Linked DNA regions of Homo sapiens: region 2 is linked to region 1. The links are contacts of gene promoters, found by promoter capture Hi-C in human tissues and cell types (Jung and others, 2019). All regions are on one chromosome and are shown on one strand. The core of a region is centred on a gene start or on the middle of the fragment in contact, and the rest is flanking DNA. Distances in the headings are between cores, read along the strand shown. Region 1 holds the start of PHKG2 (phosphorylase kinase catalytic subunit gamma 2). Region 2 overlaps FBXL19 (F-box and leucine rich repeat protein 19).

Region 1 (3,093 bases), core at 272-2,771:
AAGACCCAGCCCAAAGGTGACTCCTCCTGAGAAGGTGTGCTTTTCTGGAATCCCATAGCACTTGATACAGACCTCTACCTATCTAGCCTGATGCCTTTTTAACGTTCACGTGCCAATTTCAGTCACTTCGGGTGGAGTACCTCCAGGGCATACGCATCTTTTCTGCCCTCCCCGTGTTGAGCTTTGTGTTGAAGGCATAAATGAATGAATCCGTGAAAAAATGGGGTTGACCCAAGGTAAGAGTCTAGTCACTAGGTGTTCTCCACTGATCACTGATTCTTCCCATTTAGAACTATTCAGTCAACCAGGCGCGGTGGCTCACGCCTGTAATCCCAGCACTTTGGGAGGCTGAGGCGGGCAGATCACGAGATCAGGAGTTCAAGACCAGCGTGGCCAATATGGTGAAACGCCCGCCTCTACTAAAAATATAAATTAGCCGGCGTGGTGGCGCGCGCCTGTAATCCCAGCTACTCGGGAGGCTGAGGCAGGAGAATCACTTGAACCCAGGAGGCAGAGGTTGTAGTGAGCCGAGATCGCGCCACTGCATTCCGGCCTGGGCGACAGAGCGAGACTCCGTCTCAAAAACAAACAAACAAACAAACAAAACCAACTATCCAGTCTTCTCCTGAGAAAACCTGAACTTGAAAGACACACACACACACACAGACACACACACCACCACCACCAGCACCACCAGCACCAGCACCACCACCACCGAAAGACACACACACACACACACACCACCACCAGCACCACCACCAGCACCACCACCAGCACCACCACCACCAGCACCACCACCAGCACCAGCACCACCACCACCAGCACCAGCACCACCAGCAGCAGCAGCAGCAGCAGCACCACCACCACCACCACCACCACCACCACCACCACCACCACCACCACCACCACCACCACCACCACCACCACCACCACCACCACCACCACCCGCGAACTCTCCAGCCTTCAAACGGAAGCGGGAATGCTGGGGCTCGACCTCTTTGGACCTCCGTTTCCCTGGCCGCGGCCTTACCTGCCGATGACGTCCTTAGGGTCGTACTTCTGGTAAAACTCTTTGGCGGCGGCCCAGTCGGGCAGCTCATCCTCCGGCCCCACGTCCAGCGTCATCCTGAAGGAGGCGGGGGCCTGCGCGGAGGAGGAGGGCAGTGAGGGCAGGGAGGCCCACAGGCTCTGAGACGACCCGCATGGCGGCTCCCGGGGGCGCAGCCCTTGCAGCTGGGGCGCCAGGGTCCTGGGGGGTGGGGGGGGGTGGGGGAAGGACCCGGACTGGGGAGACCCCGCAGAAGAGCCTGGGGGCGGGAGGATGGCAGGGCAGGGAGGGGAGTGGGGAGATGTGCCCAGGAGGCAGGGGGAAGGGGCGCAAGGGCAGGCGGCTGTTGCCGCGCAGGCGCATTCGGGCGGGCGCAGGAAGGGGACGGGGGTCTAGCGCAGGCTCACCTGAGGGGGCAGGCAGAGGAGCCAGGGTCGACGCGAGCTGCGCTGTCGCCGGGTTTGCCTGCAGTCGCTCACCTTAACCCCCGGCGGCGGGCGACAACCCAAGGCTCCGCCTCCATCCTGCCCGCCAATGGTCAGCGCCGCCCGAAGACTGAGGCTCAGAAGCCCTTCCAATTGGAAACCGGCCGCCCAATTGGGGCTGGGGCGTGAGTCGGCGCTCGGCTGGACCTAAGGCTGCAACGCGACGCCGGGGCGCGGCTTCAGACGCGGCCAATCACCGAGTGGCATCTGCGGGACAGCAGAGGGCGGAGCTTGTTGTCACGTGGGCTTGGAGGCCTGGAATGGGACCCGGAAGTTGGGTTTACTGGGAAACGTGATCTCTGGGTGGCGGGGAAGCAGGACCTTCCCGCGCCTCTAGTTCCCAGACTTGAGCAGGGTTCCCTCGGTCTCCTCCAAGCATCCCTAACTGAATTCAGCATTTTCTCTTTTTTCAGACAGGGTCTCGCTCTGTAGCCCACGCTGAGGCTGCAGTGTAGTGGCGCGATCATAGCTCACTGCAGCCTTGAACTTCGGGGCTCAAGCGATCCTCCCGCCTCAGCCTCCCAAAATGCTGGGATTACAGGCTTGAGCCACAACGCCCAGCAAGCTCTTTTCAATATTAGCAGCCTGGCCCAAAGCGCCTGTCCTGAGTACACTCCAGCCCTTAAAACATTTGGACACACGCAGCTTGGACTCCAGCTTGGCCTCTTAGTTCGGACTTAAAATGCCAGAGGAAGCCTTTTCTGTGTCCGCTTCAACTCCTCCTAAATACATCCAAAGCCCTAGCGTTTACTATCTGGGATTTACACACTTTCTCAATCTTCCACCCTCTCCCAAAAGCCTTGTATCACACTCTGTTCTAAACCCACCAGGTTGTTAGATTCTGCCAGGAGTGACTCAGTGCATAGCTCAAACCTGGCATTCACTAACAAATTTTTATGACCGTCTAAGACCTAGGAACTAGACTGAGAGCAATGAAACAACACACACACCCCTACCCTGTGGAGGTTATGTTCCAGCCAAAGAGGAAAAGAATTAACTTATCTCCCTACAGCTATCTTAGAAATGACACTTTGGGATTACAATTATGAGGGAAGAAAAATGAATTCAGGTAACTTTTTATAGAGTACTATGACTCTATACCATCAATCTAAAGGCAAAATTGCAAAAAATCTTGAACTTTACTTAGATTTGTTGTTTGGTAATATAACAGGATAATAATTCTGAAGCTGAGTAATCAATATATTGATGTGACTGGAAGCCAAGGTTCTTAACTGTGGGAATCTGGAATCTGGAATCTGGAATGGGGAAAGTGGAGAAAGAACCCTATGATTGACTGGAATTTTTAAAAAGATTTTTAAAAGATGTAAAGTAGATAACATTAACTATTTACTGGCTCTTACCTCTGCTTTCAGAATGCCCTAAGCAGTAACTTCCCAGTAGAACGCCTAGTGTCTAGATGCTGATTTCTCAATAACAGTACCCAATAAAAGGAACTAAGTCTTTTCAGGAGAAATGGCCAATTTCTAGGCTTCAGCAGGGAAAGTACAAGGTGAGTCTGGAGTGATTTGTGCCAGACATTACTAATGAGCGGGGCTTATC
Region 2 (3,267 bases), core at 582-3,081, 190 kb before region 1:
CTTGCAGTGATCCGAGATAGCACCACTGCACTCCAGCCTGGGCGACAGAGCAAGACTTCACCTCAAAAAAAAAAAAAAAAAAAAAAAAATTACAAAAAAATTAGCCAGGCGTGGTGGCACACGCCTGTAGGCCCAGCTACTCAGGAGGCTGAGGTGGGGAGGATCACTTGAACCCAGGAGGCATAAGTTGCAGTAAGCCGAGATCTTGCCACTGCACTCCAGTCTGGGTGACAGAGCCAGATGGTCTCAAAAAACAAAAACAAACAAAAGGATTATCTTATTTCAGGGGACTGCAAATCTCCTTTTGAAAATCTTTCCTCAAACTAGACCTCTCCCATCCTGATTGCTCATTCAAGTTATTCATTCAACAGCTATCTATGGAGCAGCCACTGAGAACGTGCTGGGGGACCAGCCAGCGCTTGCCCTCAGGGAGCTGGAGACCCTGGCAGGAGGGCACAGATGTGCATCAAGGCACTCCACAATTGCCCAGTATTATGCTGGCGGGCTGCTCTCAAAGCTGAGAGGGACTCTGAGCTCAATGTGGGGTGGGATCAGGGAGAGCTTCTTGGAGGAAGTGGCATTTATACCCAGGCCTAAAGGATGATGAGATTTAAGTAGATGAAGAGAGATGGCCTCTGCTCCCAGCATCCCCCTCTGCCAATATGGGCCTCCTGCCCCACCAAACTGCTGAGTCTCACACTCCCTGGGAAAACCCTGTTCCTTTCAAGACTCAGTTCAAAGTACACAGCAGGTGGGTGAATGAATGAATAATGCCCAACCAGGGCCTTCCTATTCAAACTCATGTATTCTTTCCTTTCTTCAAATACTTTACCATCCAGCATGAGTCAGAAGAGACCTGAGAGGCCTCCTACCCTACCCTTGCCCAGCCCATTCTCCAGAAAAGCAAACAGAGGTTGCACCTGGTTTGGTGTCTGGTGGAGGCAGCAGCAACTCCCGGAGCTGGGAGTCTTTAACATCCTCGATCCAGCGGAGGTCCAGGAGCCGCAGGGCTGGCAGTGGGGCTGAGCCCAGGGCAGAGACAGAGAGCCAGGAGCAGCCAGAGAGCACCAGCTCCTGCAGGCCTGCGGAGAGGGGGCAGTCAGGAAGCAGGTGCTGTGAGGACTCCATCCCAGGCCTGTCCCTGTCCCCACCCTGTCCTCCGTACCACACACCCTACCTTGTAGTCGGTTCAGAAGCCACATGAGCTGCTTCTTGGAGACACCTGTCCAGCTGAGGTCCAGGGCACGGGGCTGGCGGCGAACCACACCACTGAGCATGGGCGGGGTCAGTGACTTCCGCCGGCTCAGGTCCATTCGAGGCCACAGACGCTTGTCATAGCACCTGGCGGCCATAGGGGGGAGACAGAGACCTCAGCCCTCAGCTCTCAGCAGCCCACAGTTCCCAGGCTCCCCAGCTCCAAGGGTGCACCCCAGCTCTCTTCTGGCCACACAGACAACAGGGTAGCAAGAAGCACCTGACCTCAGCCAAGAGCACTGGGATTGGAACCCAACTCCATCACTAACTGGAAATGAGACCCTGGGCAAGTCTGTTCCTCTCCCTGAGCCTCAGAAGCCTCGTTTATGATTGAAGGCAATAGCCCCCCCACTCTGCCTGCCCACAGGGCAGCTGTCAGGTCACATGGGCTCATCCCAGCTGTGGGCCTCCCAGCATAGAAAGTGTGCTGCCCAACACATACACAAATGCCACGCATGCTGCCTGATGTCATGCCAAGGGGACTGGTGTTATCCAGTCGTCTCCAGCCACCCTTGGGCTTCTTGATTCCTGACTGAGTTCTGGTGCTCATGGGTCCTTGCCTCCTTTACTCATCTCTGCTTCTGATCCACACCTGTCCCATCTTGACAGCCAGCTGCCCGCAGCTGGACTTACAGCCCTAATATCTTCCCTATTACATTACTGTGTTCCTCCAACTACAATGTAAATTCCACAAGGGCAGATTTGCGTTTTCCACTTTTTGAAAAAAAATTTTTTTTGAGACAGGGTCTCACTCTGTAACCCAGGCTGGACTCAGGCTCACCGCAGCCTCAACCTACTGGGCTCAAGCAATCCTCCCACCTCAGCCTCCTGAGTAGCTGGGACCACAGGCACATGTCACCACGCCTGGCTAATTTTTAAACAATTTTTTTGTAGAGACAGGGTCTCACTATGTTGCCTAGGCTGGTCTTGATCTCCTGGCCTCAAGCGATCCTCCTGCCTTGGCCTCCCAAAACACTGGGATTACAGGCATGAGCTACTGCACCCAGCTGCCCATTTGTAATGAATGAATCAAGCTAGTAACTACTTAAAGCTTCCACTGACCACTCTCCCCCACCTCCTCATCTACAGCATTTCATTTATTCACTCTGATTATAGAAAGCGTTATAGGTCCCAAGTATTGAAGCTACAAAGATGAACGAGTCCTAAGCAACATTAAACAGGTTTCCTAACCCGAGCACTCCACAGGCCTCAACAGACTATCTAACATGCAGTGGGCTGGGTGCAGTGGCTCACACCTGTAATCCCAGCACTTTGGGAGGCCGAGGTGGGTGGATCATGAGGTCAGGAATTCGAGAACAGCCTGGCTGTTCTACTAGTGAAACCCTGTCTCTACTAAAAGTACAAAAAATTAGCTGGGCATGGTGGCGGGCGCCTGTAATCCTAGCTACTCGGGAGGCTGAGGCAGGAGAATTACTTGAACCCGGGAGGCGGAGATTGCAGCGAGCCGAGATCGCACCACTGCACACCAGCTGGGGCAACAGTGAGAGACTCCATCTCAAAAACAAACAAACAAACAAACAAACAAAAAACATGCAGTGAACTGGAGAAGGGCCTCTCAAACGTACTTCCCCAGGAATCCTTCCCCACCTCTCCCAAGGTAATCTAGTAACATTTTGTAGTACACTGAAGTTCCTTTGGACTCAGTTTGAGAACTCTCTTCTCTGAGTTCAGTAGTTCTCAAAGGCATGTCCAGAAATGCCTCTGAGACTCAATAGACTGTGTCAGAAGCAGCAGGCCCAGGAAGCTTTTTTTTTTTTTTCTTGAGACAGTGTCTTGCTTAGTCACCCAGGCTGGGGTGCAGTACTGCGATCACAGCTCACTGCAACCTTAAACTCCTGGGCTCAAGCCATCCTCCTACCTCAGCCTCCTGAGTAGCTGGGACTACAGGCACATGCCACCACACCTGACTTTTTTTTTTTTTTTGAGACAGAGTTTCGCTCTTGTTGCCCAGGCTGGAGTGCAATGGTGTGATCTTGGCTCACTGAAACCACC

Evidence for each region. The method cuts DNA at HindIII sites, captures the fragments that hold promoters and counts their contacts. A contact is called where the count stands out against the background at its distance.
Region 2: a fragment that was not itself captured here is called in contact with the fragment with the promoter of PHKG2 in region 1 in 2 of the 25 tissues and cell types used here (dorsolateral prefrontal cortex and spleen).

What each region holds. Positions count from the first base shown.
Region 1 is chr16:30,746,853-30,749,945 of GRCh38, reverse strand. It overlaps PHKG2 (phosphorylase kinase catalytic subunit gamma 2), which reads right to left and starts at 1,521. Exons shown (of 10, transcript NM_000294.3): 1 at 1,456-1,521; 2 at 1,031-1,143. The coding sequence starts at 1,125. RefSeq lists silencers at 1,295-1,434, 1,475-1,774. The HindIII fragment of the contact is 8,703 bases long and covers 1-3,093 here.
Region 2 is chr16:30,940,190-30,943,456 of GRCh38, reverse strand. It overlaps FBXL19 (F-box and leucine rich repeat protein 19), which reads right to left. Exons shown (of 11, transcript NM_001382779.1): 8 at 1,178-1,341; 9 at 921-1,082. Among named protein-coding and RNA genes, the nearest start is that of ORAI3, 7.2 kb to the left of the region's middle. RefSeq lists an enhancer at 1-893 and a silencer at 1,318-1,447. The HindIII fragment of the contact is 5,049 bases long and covers 1-3,267 here.